Linked DNA regions of Homo sapiens: all the other regions are linked to region 1. The links are contacts of gene promoters, found by promoter capture Hi-C in blood cells and fetal thymus (Javierre and others, 2016). All regions are on one chromosome and are shown on one strand. Each heading gives the region's core, a stretch centred on a gene start or on the middle of the fragment in contact. The rest is flanking DNA. Distances are from core to core; before and after follow the strand shown. Region 1 holds the start of FOXD2-AS1 (FOXD2 adjacent opposite strand RNA 1). Region 2 has its middle 3.3 kb from the start of LINC01738. Region 3 has its middle 2.9 kb from the start of PDZK1IP1. Region 4 has its middle 34 kb from the start of LINC01738. Region 5 overlaps STIL (STIL centriolar assembly protein).

Evidence for each region. The method cuts DNA at HindIII sites, captures the fragments that hold promoters and counts their contacts. A CHiCAGO score of 5 or more calls a contact.
Region 2: a contact is called between a fragment that was not itself captured here and the fragment with the promoter of FOXD2-AS1 in region 1, in 13 of 17 cell types (total CD8 T cells, naive CD4 T cells, naive CD8 T cells and 10 more). The highest score is 9.6, in total CD8 T cells.
Region 3: a contact is called between a fragment that was not itself captured here and the fragment with the promoter of FOXD2-AS1 in region 1, in 8 of 17 cell types (naive CD4 T cells, total CD8 T cells, naive B cells and 5 more). The highest score is 12.8, in naive CD4 T cells.
Region 4: a fragment that was not itself captured here is called in contact with the fragment with the promoter of FOXD2-AS1 in region 1 in 1 of 17 cell types (total CD8 T cells); the score reaches 6.1 in total CD8 T cells.
Region 5: a fragment that was not itself captured here is called in contact with the fragment with the promoter of FOXD2-AS1 in region 1 in 2 of 17 cell types (total B cells and naive B cells); the score reaches 5.9 in total B cells.

Annotation. Positions count from the first base shown.
Region 1 is chr1:47,433,274-47,436,084 of GRCh38, forward strand. It overlaps FOXD2-AS1 (FOXD2 adjacent opposite strand RNA 1), which reads right to left and starts at 1,368. Exons shown (of 1, transcript NR_026878.1): 1 at 1-1,368. The region is part of intron 1 of LINC01389 (long intergenic non-protein coding RNA 1389); the gene reads right to left. RefSeq lists an enhancer at 853-1,368. The HindIII fragment of the contact is 12,098 bases long and covers 1-2,494 here.
Region 2 is chr1:47,683,820-47,686,630 of GRCh38, forward strand. No RefSeq gene overlaps it. Among named protein-coding and RNA genes, the nearest start is that of LINC01738, 3.3 kb to the right of the region's middle. The HindIII fragment of the contact is 817 bases long and covers 1,049-1,865 here.
Region 3 is chr1:47,191,559-47,194,369 of GRCh38, forward strand. No RefSeq gene overlaps it. Among named protein-coding and RNA genes, the nearest start is that of PDZK1IP1, 2.9 kb to the left of the region's middle. RefSeq lists an enhancer at 1-832. The HindIII fragment of the contact is 810 bases long and covers 1,076-1,885 here.
Region 4 is chr1:47,652,922-47,655,732 of GRCh38, forward strand. No RefSeq gene overlaps it. Among named protein-coding and RNA genes, the nearest start is that of LINC01738, 34 kb to the right of the region's middle. The HindIII fragment of the contact is 198 bases long and covers 1,318-1,515 here.
Region 5 is chr1:47,248,951-47,251,761 of GRCh38, forward strand. STIL (STIL centriolar assembly protein) reads right to left here. Exons shown (of 17, transcript NM_001048166.1): 17 at 1,189-2,811. The coding sequence ends at 2,186. Among named protein-coding and RNA genes, the nearest start is that of TAL1, 18 kb to the left of the region's middle. The HindIII fragment of the contact is 4,333 bases long and covers 1-2,811 here.

The DNA.
Region 1 (2,811 bases), core at 118-2,617:
ACATGAGGACAGAGAAAGAGAGGCTCGGCCCAGCTGGCCGAGAAACCCACAAGAGCGCACTTAGACATGAAGTTCTCCTTCCCACATACCTGGAAGCGTCCCCCACTGCCCCTGGCCGCCTCTGCTCTCAAGAGCGTGGAGCCTTCCCTACCACTCCGGGAACTCTGTGATCTTCAGGACCGGCGGGTTTCAAGTGGCGCTGTTTTCGGTCTCTCCTGAGGTCGCAACCCTCTTCCCACGAACAACAGCCCACAGGCTCCGCAGCTCGCCTTGGTCTCAACAACCGCGCAGTACTTGGGTGCTTAAGCGAGTCCCCTACCACATAGTCCAGGGTTGGGGGCGGGGGAGATGGGGCTGGGAGGGGACAGTGGCCAGGAGTAGCGGAAAGAGAAGATGTAAATTCACTCTCGAACTTTGCCCGGCAGACGCGTGGTGGTTATCTCCGCGCCAGCGCCTGAAGTGGGCAGGTGGGCTTCAGAGTTGAAGGTGCACACACTGGAGCCCCAGTCATTTCTGTGCATGGGGAACATGTCTGAGGTCTGCCTCCGCGGGTCACAGGATCTGGAGTCTCCCGCCTCCCACCTGGGCTAAGGGAGCTGATCGCTTCTGAGCAGCCGAAGATCCGGGTGGAGAAAGGGGCCGGGAGCTGTACCGGCTGAGGCTAGACAGCTATCTCGCTTTGGAGCTGCAGCTAGGTCCAGAGTGGGAAGGAGGCTCGCGCCGGCTTTGCCGCTTTCCCTGAGGGTGTCCAGTTTTGTGAATAAAATTAGAGAAATCTGCGGGCGTAGTTCCCCAAGCCCAGCTCAGGCTTCCGTTTGCAGCCCGGCGCTGGCCGAGCTCGAACCGCTGAAAAGGGCCGCGTGCAATCGTTCCGCTGTGCCTCAGGACAAACTCCGCTTCAAGCCAGTGCCGCTCTCCGGCAGTTTCCTGATTGACTTAATTAGATCCGCATAATCGCTGGAGGGCTTTTCTTTCCCAGAGCCGAGAACAGCTCATTTATGGGGACCAAAAGGAAGAGAGGGAGAGACGACCCGGACGCCACTGATAGCAACGTACTCTTCGCAAAAAACACTCAGTAACTAGTGGAAAAGCCCAACAGGCATCCCCCTCCGCCCGCCAACGCTTCCTCCCAATTGTTCTGGGCTGCACGAGGGAGATGGCCGGGCCGTGGAACAGATGCAGAAGGAGGCCCGGCACGACCAGAGACGCTGTAACCAAGACCCGCAGAGCCTGTGGCTTCCCGCTCTTTGGCGGCTGCAGCAGGCATGGTGCTGGAGCCCAAGGCTTCTGGGAAAGAGTCCAGGTTTTCGCGGAGGGAGCGACGGACTCACGCGGGATCGCAGGCACTGCTGCAAGACGCCGAACAGGCTGAGCCGGTAGGCGAAAGAAGTAAGGGTCACAGAAGAAGCAAAGAAAACGAAATAAATTCCGAATCCCGCGGTGGCCCTTCTCCCAGTCCCCAGTGCACTTACTCCTGACACTGTTGAAAACAAACTGGCCCAGAACCTTGGAAGGGAGGAGAGGCTACTAGAAATCCCTCTATACAGAGAGGAGCTCGGTTAGAGAAACAGCTATTTGGATAAACAGAGGGGTTCTGGGCTAGGAACCCGGACACGTAGGTCCAACCCAGCTTAGCGCCCCTCAAAAGCCTGACAAGTAACATGATCTCCTGGACCTCAGTTTCCGCTCCTGTAAAAAGTATGTATGTGAAGGGTCTGGATTCTCCCTCCCCAACCCTGCAGAGCAGAAGCTGGGGATTCTGTACTCCCCTTCCCCAGTGTAGGTCTCAGTAGCAGTGAACGTGCAGCAAGGCCAGGCAGAGGCAAGGGCTGGCTGCTGTAGCTGCTTGGTAGAACTTCTCTGAAGCAGGAAATTTGGGCAGCAAGTGCCCTGGCTAGTCTCACCCTGACCAAAGCCTGGGGAGCCAGGGGAGTGCTGGCAAGGAAGGAAGCTACTGGTTCCCATTTGCTGTTTTAGAAACGAGGACATTCAGGCCGGGCAGGGTGGCTCACGCCTGTAGTCCCAGCACTTTGGGAGGCCGAGGCGGGTGGATCACCTGAGGTAGGGAGTTTGAGACCAGCCTGACCAACATGGAGAAACCTCCTCTCTACTAAAAACACAAAATTAGCCGGGCATGTTGGTGCCTGCCTGTAATCCCAGCTATTTGGGAGGCTGAGGCAGGAGAATCATTTGAACCTGGGAGGCTGAGGTTGTGGTGAGCTGCTGAGATCAGGCCATTTTACTCCAGCAGGGGGGCAACAAGAGCGAAACTCAGTCAAAAAAAAAAAAAAAAAAAAAAAAGAAAAGAAAAAAAAGAAATGAGGACATTCAGAAGGTGAAATGGAGTAGGATGACGCCAACACTGTTTTTCTCTCCACTTGTTTAGATACTAGCAGAGTTGAGCTGGGTTGGAGTTGGTGTGTGGTCCATGGTGTGGGGTATCTGTGAGTGGGGTTCTGGGAGTGTGAGACAGATATCCATGTAGTCAAGAGCAAGCTTGAGGTATGTGTAGGGTTGCCAGATAAAATAAATCTGCTAAATCTAGCAACCCTAGGTATGTGAGTTTCCTTGGACTCATGCAAGAAGCTTCTCTCCAAGACCTTTTTCCCCGGACAGTCTGTCACCCAGGAAATTCCAATTCCAGGGCTACTAGTCCCTGTCCAATTTGCTGTCCATGGTTTGAGGACGAGATTTCTCTTTTTTCCAATGACAGTTTATGCTGGAACAGCACATTAAATGGATCCCCTTGGTCAGAGGTCCCAGAGGGGGCCCAGGCGACTTCCTCTCAAAGGACATGAGTAGTCAGACCTG
Region 2 (2,811 bases), core at 207-2,706, 250 kb after region 1:
TGGAGGAATTATATACTATGTCTAGCTCTTAGAAGGGTCATTACATAGAAACAAAAGCAAAATTAATATTGTGAGACGCCAGAGGGCGGAGCAAGGGTAGACGATGCAAGTAGGGAGATTTCAGCTAGATTTGAGAAAGTCTATTCTAATAATCCCAGCCGCTCAGAAATGGACTCAGCTGCCTGGGGAGATAGTGAGGTCTCTGCCCCCAGAGGTGTGCAAACAGTGGGTGGATGGGCTACCTCTGAGAGGCTGCAGGGCAGGTCCCTGCCCCGGGAGCAGTTCTGTTAGACTCCCTTTAAGGTCCTTTACAACTCTAAGATTCTGAGACTAAATCATCATTGAGAATCTGTCTTGTGCTGGATGCCGTGGAGGTGAAAAGAGAAAAGAGACAGGACCCCAGCCCCCAAAGTGCTCTCATTCAGGTGGGCAAGACAGACAGGACATTGTCATTTATAATTGAGTGGCAACTGTCATGATTGGGGGTAGTGAAAGTACTGAGGGCTGTGAAAGCCTAGAGGAAGGGGCCACCTTGCACCATGACCACAAGCATGTCCTTGGGGCTGGTGATGGTGGCCCTTAGAACAGCACTATCCAATAGAACTCTCTACAGAGATGGAAATGTGTTATATCTGTGCTGTTCAATATGGTAGCCCTTGAATTGTGGCTGGTTGGACTGAATTTTACATTTTACTTAATTTAATAGCTGTATGTGGCAAGTGCCTACTATATTGGGCAGCACAGACAGAAGACATTTCTACCATTGCAGAAAGTTCTATTGGACATCACTGCTCTAACGAGTTAAAATAGGCAGCTCTGTGATCCCAAGGCGCCTTCCTTTCCTCCCCTCACCGTGTCAGTACCACAGAGAGTGAGGCCTGCAGACACGGGTGTCAGAGCACCGCACGGGCCAGCTTCCTGTGTGACACTGAATCAATCCCTCCACCTCTCTGGGCTACAGCATCAATAAAATGAGGCATCAAACTATAAGGCTTTACAAAATAATAACAATAAAGACTCTGAGGGTCTAGAACTAGGAGAAAAAGGAAGCTTCACTTTTTCTCCTTGTTCTTCCCTTTCCCCTCTATTGACCCCAACCTTCCACCACCCAGACCACAGCTCCCAAAGACCCCAAGAACTTTTGTATTTACCGCTTAGCACTTGCTATACGGGTCTATGACCTTCTTTAGAAACTTTTTCTTTACGAGTTTATTTTGGCTTGTGCTGAGCATTCATAAAATTCCTAGGGAACTGGAGGTTTAAACCTTGGGCTTGTAAAAGGAGTAGGTGGGAGGGAGTGGGAACCCGGCAGAGAAGGGAGAGGACTGCAGCCAGCCCTTGGAAGTTGGAAGACAAGACTAAGTTTTCCACTCTCCACTCAAGGCCTCGCCTTCTGTGAGTCCTGGGTCTTTTAGGTCATGAAAGGGGAGAAGAAGAGAAGGAGAAAGAGAAAGAGGGGTGGGGCGGGAGGTGGGTGGAAGGAATTAGAGGCATGAAGGGCTGGGATTTTCCCACTGAGTGAGCAGAGCAGGGCCCATTTCTGATAAGCGGTCTCTCTGTCTCCTCTTGGGTTTTTCTTGTCATTCATCTCTTCTCCAGCCAAGCTGCTCCTCAGCAGGTTGGAGGTGCTGGTGAATGGCTCAGAGAGCGCAGGGCATGTGAAACAAATTAGGTCTCTGTTACAGCCACCCAGAGGCGGGTGATGGATGGGGGCCTGTGTTCACGGCAAAGCTAATTGGCAACACACAGAGACATCCAAGAAAGTATATTATTTTGCCAGACTTCAGAGTCATTGGACTTTTTTTCTTATTGTAGAACATTATACAGCCAGAGATAAGCACAGTGAAAGTTTTAAATCTAATAAAAGCTTTTGACTGCGGAGTAAAAATAACATACACAGAGAAGTTTGATTTGGATTCAGGTTTTATTAATGTTCTTTCATTGCAAAATGTTTCCAATTATAAAACAATTCGGAGAGCTCTGCATTAATAAACTTGCCTGTCTTTCAGAAGGGCCAGAGATTTTGAAATGCCTGGTGGACAAACACACACATACACAAACACACATGCACAGTGTTACCAGAGGGTTATTACAACAATATCTAAAATGTTCCAAATTCAGACTTGTGTGGCTCAGACCTGGGTAGAAGTGAAAAACCTCATGACTGAGCTTAGAGAAAAAGCACCTGAAGTTTCCTTAGCATCACCTGTTCCAAGTACTCACAAATAATACTCAAACCCGGCTCAGATGTCACCAGCAGGGATCAGCAAAGACTAGCATATTCTAGGCCTCAGTTTCCCCATTTGTAAAATAAGGCTGTTAGGTTGAATAGTATCTGAGGATTTTAGGATAGCTCCAGGAAATCAGTGAAGGATCATTATTGATTGCCCCCAAATATTTCTTCCTCTTTGCTTTAGAAAAAGTTAACTAAATCTGAATTTGATCAGCAATGGGAAAAAGGACCAAATCATAGTTCTAACCTGACAAACCAGGAGCTGAAGCTTGTGCCAAGTTGTTTGTAAAGAATAACTAGTAGCATGACTAACTCCAAGTGGAAGTTTGCAGAATAACCAGCCATCTTCATAAAATAGGAGAGGGATATCAGATTGTTTTAAACCAGTAGTTTTCAAAGGAACTTCATGTTTGCAAAGTGACTGGTAAATTAATGTTTCTTGGTGAATTGCGGACAAGTTGTTTCTCAAATAACTGGCCATTTTCAATTCAAGTACTTGCTTAACTATATCCAACTGTTTTGTTTTCTGCCCCCACATAACTGAAGTTTTAACCCTGGGGAGGAAATACAATTCTAAC
Region 3 (2,811 bases), core at 231-2,730, 240 kb before region 1:
ACATGTATATCCTGGCCTCCCTCCCACACCCAACTTGGTGTCCTCAGAATCTTCTAACACAGACTGGAGTAAGCACTGTGCATGTTAATGAACAGCCAGAGAATCACTGATTGGAATGTAAGGAATGGGGCTGAATTTAACAAACATCTACTGGTGCCTTCTCCAAGAATTTTAGGGAGGAGAGTCACATGGTTAGTTTTGCGTTTGGGAAAACACCTCTCCATGCAGTGTGGAGAGTGAAAGGGGCATGCAAAGGCTGGAGAAGAGAAATCCAGGGATCTGCTACAGTGGCCACAACACCAGTGCCTGGACCTGGGCAGGAAGTGCCCATGGGAACAGATCTGAGCCCTGTTGAGGAGGTAGAGAAGCCGGGGTGTGGCTGCTGGAACACAGTGCCAAGCTGGGAGAATGGGTACAGGCAGGAGGCAGGGCTTCAGGTGACTCCCAGGTTTCTGGCGTAGGCAGCTGGGTAGATGCTAGTGCCTCAGTAGGGGCCAGAGCAAGTTTGGGGGGTTGGAGGATTAATGAGCTATAGATTTTGAGGTATTATGCTTGCAGTGCCTGTGGACTTTCCAGAGGGAGACATCTGGAAGGCTGCAAAATCCCTGCATCTGGAGTGGAACATCTGGGAGCCGTCTGCAGCACAGGGATGGTAACTGAGGCCTGGGAGCTCATGGTCTCCCCAGTGTGTGTAGCGGGGGTAGGGGTGTTGAGGGGAGAGCACAGAAAGAAGGAGACACGCCCCCAACACACAAAGGTCTTTCAAAGGAAGAAGGGGCAGGAGGAAACAGGAGGAAGCAACCCCAGGAAAGTGGGGTATCCCAGGAGCCAAGCAAGGACAGACTTAAGGAGGGTGGGGGGGTCACAGCTGTGCCACCCCCTCCAACCAGTGCCCTCAGCACTCAAGTCCCAGGTTCTGCCTTCCCCACCCCAGTATCCTCCACTTCCCTGAAAAACCCAGGGAAAGGAAAGGATCCCCTGGGCTATGCTTTGGGAGTGGTGGGGGAAGGGGATGAACAGGAAGGACACCAGGTGATCAACAGGAGGAAAACATACCTCCTGGGTCAAAGTCCCAAGCTTTAGAGCAAAACAAGTTGTTCCAGAAAAGAGGGAGCATGGGTGGACACTTGGCTTTGAGGCTGGTCCCTCCTCCCTGGAGGTCTTCACACGGGTGGAGGGTCATCTCCCCAGCTGTATGGACACAGCCCTGATCCCCATGGTAACAAGGTGGGCCCCCCTACTGGTCTGGCTGGGGCCCAGGGTCTGGACTAAGGTCTCAGCAGCCCCACAGGGCTGCACCGTGTGTCCTGAGCAGCTGTTCCATCGACGTTCAGTTCCTCCTTCCTGTTCCAGCCCAGCTGTCACGCAAAACCATCAGGCCCCTTAGACAAGCCCTCCATCCAGCCAGACCTTATGCGATTGCCCTTCAGAAAAGCCAAAGTGGGCCTGGACTGTTTCCAGCAGTCTCCTTCCTCCCAACCCCATCTTGTCAGCCATTCCACTCACTGCCAGCAGGTGGCAGTGTCTAGCTCCAATACCAGACTGGGCGTGCAGGGAGCCAGTTTGCTGCTGAAGATTCTGCAACTTCCCCTCCCTCCAGCCCCCACTTTTGCCCTCCTCCAGGGGTGGTCTGAAGAAAGGGACGGTGGACATTGACATGTAAATAGTCTGGGAACAGCATACAGGGAGTGCTCAGGGCTCTGACATAGGGCAGCGTGGTGGACTACATTGCTAAGGAAGGCATCCTGGAGGAGGTAATGCAGGCAAAGTTAGCCAGAGTGTTGTACTCGGCAGACAGTCTGGGGAGAGGAATCCAGGCAAAGAGCTTAGCCTGAGAAAAAGTACAGAGAACATTCAAGAAGGGTGTTTAGAACACAAATATAAAAGCTTTCTTTTTTTCCCTCTCAGTGTCTCTCTCTGTCACCCAGGCTGGAGTGCAGTGGTTCAATCTTGGCTCACTGCAACCTCCGCCTCCTGGGTTCAAGCGATTCTCTTGCCTCAGCCTCCTGAGTAGCTGGGATCACAGGCGCCCACCACCACACCAAGCTAATTTTTGTATTTTCAGTAGAGACGAGGTTTCACTATGTTGGCCAGGGTGGCCTCAAACTCCTGACCTGAAGTGATCAGCCCGCCTCGGCCTCCCAAAGTGCTGGGATAACAGGCGTGAGCCACCGCGCCCAGCTCTTTACTAATTCTTATAATACTTCATCTTGTTAATATCATTGCTGTAAGCCAGAGAGCTCCTGGAGACCTTGTTTTATTCTTTCAAACGTATCTTGCTTAAACCCTTTTATGGCATTCATCAGCCCTTAAAATAATATGCAAACTTCTTTGCATGGGTTTGAGGGCACAGGCAATCTTCCTTACCCACCACTCCAGCTTGGTCTGGCCCCGGAGCCTCCTGTCACTTCCTAACAAAAGCCAAGCTCTTTCCCACATCAGAGACTTCTCTCCACTTGCTCTTTTCTCTGCCTGGAACACTCTTCCACTCCTATTTGCCCAGCAAACTGATCTTCCTTTACATCCCTTTCTTCAAGAATACTTCTTTACTTCCCTTCTCTCCCATCTGAAGTCACTCCCTTCTATGAGTCTCCTTTGCTCATCTCCTCACAGCCATGATCACAAGTTGCAATTACACACTGATTTGTATGTTTACTCATTTAATAACTGTCTCCATGGAGGGAAGGTATCATGTCTATCTCTCCCTCAGCAGCCAGTACTGAGCACAGTGCCTGAGTACACACTCGACACACATTTTATGAAATTAAATGTCAGTATATGCAGTGCCTACCACTGGCCTAACAAAGAGCA
Region 4 (2,811 bases), core at 167-2,666, 220 kb after region 1:
CTAAGGGAACCAGGGAGCACAGTCCAGCAGGAGAGACCAACGGGATGCACAGGGAGTGCTGCTGTTCCTTCTGCCTACAGTGCTTTCTCCCACTACCTTCCTCCAGGGAACTCCTACTCATCCTTCAAAACCCGGCTTCAACTGTGCGCCTGCTCTGGAGGCTTTTTTTTTTTTTTTTTTTTTTTTTGAGACAGTCTCACTCTTTCGCCAGGCTGGAGTTCTGTGGCCCAATCTCTGCTCACTGCAACCTCCAACTCCCTGGTTCAAGCGATTCTCCTGCCTCAGCCTCCGAGTAGCTGGGATTACAGGCAAGTGACACTATGCCCAGCTAATTTTTGTATTTTTAGTAGAGATGGGATTTCACTATGTTGGCCAGGCTGGTCTTGATCTTCTGACCTCATGGTCTGCCCACCTTGGCCTCCCAGTGCTGGGATTACCAGGTGAGCCACTGCGCCCCGCCCTCTGGAGGTCTTTTTGGATCCTCTTCCAAGGCTGAGTTACTTGTTATGTCCTCTGTGATTGTACAGAGCACATCCCGTACTATTTTGTAATTATTGGTTTAATGTATTGCTCCTTGAAAGTGGCGAACATTTCTGTATTTGTTTCCTAGAAATGCCATAACAAAATACCACAAATTGGGTGGCTTAAAACAACAGAAATTTATTCTGTCACAGTTCTGGAGTCTAGACGTCTGAGATTAACATGTCGGCAGGGCCGTGCTCCCTCTCAAGCTTCTCGGGGAGAAGCCTCTTTCAGCTTCTGGTGGCCCCAGGCATTCCTTGGATTTTGGCAGCACCTCTGCCTCTGTGCGTTTGTATCTCTTCTTATACTGACACCACCCTACTCCACTATGGCCTCATTTAATGTTACTAATTATATCTGCAATGACTCTATTTCTAAACAAGGTCACATTTTGAGGTACTTGGGGTTAGGACTTCAACTTGTCTTTTTGAGGCACACAGTTCAGCCCATCACAATCTCTCATTCATGATTATATTCCCAACATCTGGCACAACCCTTGGCTTGGAGCAGGTGCTCAGATCACATCGAACAAACGAACACTTTCCTAAATGATTAAACAATTATATAAAATACAATAGCAAGATATGTAAGCCCCAGTGAAAGACAGAAGTGAGTGTTCCATGCACCCAGTGGGAGGGGGGCTCATTCCACCTGGGGCTTCTGGGATGGCACTTCCACGAGGCTTTGAGGAATAAGTAGAGGTTCAACTCATGCAAAAGTTGAGACAAGGCACAAAAGGACCAAAATCATGGACACAAAGTGAGGACTATTCTCATTGACCTGAGGACCAGCTGAAGCTTGGACAGTAGACTTTATTTTGGGCCACACAGCTAGGAAGTGGCAGAAGTAGCACTGAGACCCGTGACAATCTGTCACTTTCTCTGTTATTATGTTTCTCTCTTGTGTTAAAAACAAGTTCCCTCTGTGGCCCCTGAAAGACCTGTGGCTCTTTTCTTGAAAGATCTTACTTGTCTTAAATAGGCAAGTCTCTGAAGCTTCTCTCCGAGACTTTTATAATTTATGTTGTTATTGTGGGTCTGTGGACAGATGTTAATTTTCACTTTGCAAGCCCATTTTTCAGATTGGCTTGTGGAAGCAGAGCGTGCTTTGGTGGCTGGTCCTTTCAGATCACCATGGAGTGTAGGGAACTGGACAGGCCATAGAGAGTGGCTACTTACCTGCTCCCACAAAATACCTCACATCCAATAATTCCTCTGGCATTTCTTTTAAAGCATATATTCAGGGGAATATGGCAGGCATGGAAAGCCCGCCCATTAACCTCTTTCTCTGCATCAAAGTCTTATGAGTGATTAACCCCACCAATGAAGCCTATCCATGGGGTTGTGTGAAGGGAAGAACTGGGTCCCAAATGACAAGCAGCCAAGAGTGGGGGTGTACAACCTGAACCCCAAAGACACATCCTGGGTTTGAATCTTGGTTTGGCCATTCATTAGCCAAAGGCTGTGCCTCAGTTTACCATCTGTCAGTGAGAATTATGGTGGCATCCACCCCATGAGGATTTTTGTGAGAATAAAATGAGTTGGTAGATGTGAAGTGCTCAGAGCAGCACCTGTTACAGAGCAGGCACAGACAGAAGTGGTAGCTGTTGCTATTGTTATTGTAATGAATAGAGCTTCATGTATGGAGTGCGGAGAGAACTGGGTTGGAAGGTTTGGGTTTCTAACATATTATCTATGATGATAGTAACTTTGGCTAAAGACGTTTAGCAAAATCCAGCATTATATCAACATCATTTTCATTGCACAAGAAGGCTGCTGCATGCTGGAAGGAGCTATTGAGAGAGAGTGGGAGGACAGTGTTTCAAGGCAGAATCTTAGTGAACGAATGCCTTGAGGCAGCAGGGTGAGGGTGCTTAGGGCTGGGAGAAAACCAGAGACTTAGGAAGCAATCATGAAACACAGACGAAACTAGAGAAAACATCAGTTTGTGCCTATTCCACATATTTATTTCAGTCTTGCTCATTTAAAAAATCTTGCTTTATATATATGTATAACTGAGATTAATCTTATCTTTTAAAATATGCTGTTATTTGAGTCCAAAAAATGGCCCATAACCAGCCTCTGGGGAAAACCAGAGGACTCTTTAAGGACAGCTTTTTCTTCATCAACCCCACATGAAGTCAGCTTCCAGATGCCTGAGTCCCCCTTTCCAGCCGCTCATATCTGTCCCCTTTCTCCATCCAGCCTGCCCTGGCCCTGCTGCCTCAGTATCCCTCACTTGGAGCCCTGCTGGAGCTCCTCCAGCTGGGGCAGGTTGGGCTTCCATCCC
Region 5 (2,811 bases), core at 312-2,811, 180 kb before region 1:
AAATGTAACAATTTAAGACCTTTTAAAAAGGTTGTGGGGGATGTGCCAGGAAAGAACTGATACACTCATCGACTTGGATGTATCTTAGGACATCATGCCAAGTGAAAACAGCAAATTTCAAAAAGGTACACACTATATGATTCCATTTATATAAAAGATTCTCAAAAGGCCAAAATTCTAGTGGTGGAGAACAAATCACTGGCTGCTGGGGGTTAGGGTTGGAGAGACCGTGTGTTTTAAAAGGGTAGCACTAGGGAGTTTGTGGTGATGGAATAGTTCTGTATGCTGACTATGGTAGTAGTTATGTGATTCTATAAAAGATAAAATTTCAGCCAGGCAGTGGCTCACGCCTATAACCAGCACTTCGGGAGGCCGAGGTGGGCAGATCACGAGGTCAGGAGTTTGAGGCCAGACTGGCCAACATGGTGAAACTCTGTCTCTACTAAAAATACAAAAATTAGCCAGGTGTGGTGGCATGCACCTGTAGTTCCAGCTACTTGGGAGGCTGAGGCAGGAGAATCACTAGAATCCGGGAAGCAGAGGTTGCAGTGAGCCAAGGTCGCACCACTGCACTCCAGCCTGGGCAACAGAGCAAGACTCCGTCTCAAAAGATAAAATTTCATGGCTGGGAGCGGTGGCCCATGCCTGTAATCCCAGAACTTTGGGAGGCAGAGTGGGCAGATTACTTGAGATCAGGAGTTTGAGACCAGCCTGGCCAACAAGGTGAAACCCCATCTCTACTGAAACTATAAAAATTAGCCAGGCGTGGTGGTGTATGCCTGTAATCCAAGCTACTCGGGAGGCTGAGGCACAAGAATCACTTGAACCCAGGAGATAGAAGATGCTGTGAGCCAAGATCACGCCACTGTACTCCATCCTGGGCAACAGAGCAAGACTCCATCTCGAAGAAGAAAAAAAAGATAAAATTTCATAAAGCTATATACCAAAAAGTAAATAAATGAGTGCATGTAAACACTTGTGAAACCTGATAGGTCTGTGGTTCAGTTATTAGCATTATAGCCAATGTCAATTGCTTGGTTTTGCTCATTTACTATGCTTATGTAAGATATTATCACTGGAGGACACTGGAAGAAGGGTATACGGGAACTCTCTGTATTATTTTTGTAATTTGGGGGCAGTCTAAGAGTTTTTTAAAAAGTGGAGAATAAACTATAACAGACAACAAAGGAAAATAGTCAATCTAGACATTTTATTAAGTTCTATTAAAAAATATTAAGACATCTGAAAAACTCAGAAAGTTTATAAAACACACTCATACTCAATAATTTTCTTATTCTTTGATAGCCAGTGTGACATGTTGAAGATGTTACACCAAAACCAACCCACCATACTGCAAAAAGCTGTATCTCGAGTTTAATCAACATGCATCCTAATTAAGGGGAAATACACTCTTGTATAAAAGAGTGTAAGTTTTTATTAAGTTGTTTTTAAAAATAACTTTTCCCTTAAACTTAGGAAGGGTTGATTTCGCTAATTTACCCAACACCATGATAACTTATGTTCTTTTAATGATATAGGATAAATGCAGAGATGCAACATGCTGGAACTTCTTAAAATATACAGTATAGCTGGGCGCAGTGGCTCACGCCTGTAATCCCAGCACTTTAGGAGGCCGAGGCGGGCGGATCACCTGAGGTCGGGAGTTTGAGACCAGCCTGACCAACATGGAGAAACCAGTCTCTACTAAAAATACAAAATTAGCCAGGCGTTGTGGCACATGCCTGTAATCCCAGCTACCTGGGAAGATGAAGCAGGAAAATCGCTTGAACCCAGGAGGCAGAGGTTGCAGTGATCTGAGATCCTGCCATTGCACTCCAGCCTGGGCTACAAGAGCAAAACTCCGTCTCAAAAAAAAAAGTACAGTATAAAAGAGCAGTTGAGACTTAGAGCTGGATAGTATCTGTCTACTACTTAAACTTGTAGGAATAACTGATCTCAGGGCTTTTCTTAAAGGTTTCAGTGATGTTGAACAGCTCTATTTGAACAATGAGAACTTAGTCCTATCACCAGCCAGCCATCTCACAGAAGTCACTCTTCCCAATTGGCTGCTACCAAGAAACAGTGACTCCAGAATGATCAGGAGCCTTGTGGTAGGCTCCTGTTTTCCCTAAGTATCTTCAGGAGACACCCTGTCCCTGTATTAAAAGGGCAGGGAGTTAAAAGGTTAAAATAATTTTGGTAACTGTCTGAGACGTTTTACATCTAAGAAGGTGCCTACTGAATTCATGCTATTCATCTGCTTTAGCGTTTCAGAAGGTTGCAAACTTTCAGGAAAAATTGTAATGTCCCCTTCATTTTCTTTCTCAGGATGTTGAGTGAACTCTGCTTTCCCGGTTCGAAGGTTCACTGCAGGACTTGGTTTAAGGTTCTTTACTAAGAAAGCTGGCTTTTCAGTCAACTGCTGTTTTGCTTTTGTCTGCAAAACTTCATTTGTAATATTTCTCAATACTGGCGTATCTGCGTTGGTCCCCACAGATTCACAGTTAGAACAATTAATTATTTCATGGTCATTCTTAGAAGGCTCTTTCTGACCACCAAGCTGTTCAGGTATGGACCTAAGGTTCTGATTCAATAAATATTCACTCTTGCTATCTGCATTGTCGGGAGGTTCCTCTTCATCTTCACTATTGTCACTGCTTTGTAGGAGTCCATATCTCTTCATATATTTTTTGGTTGCAAATGACATGTTGTTTGGTGAAATTAAACTAAGCCCCACTGTGCTTCTGTCTGTATTAATATGGAGAAGGCTGAATGGGTCACAATTATTTTGGTTCGATCGAGTGACAGACA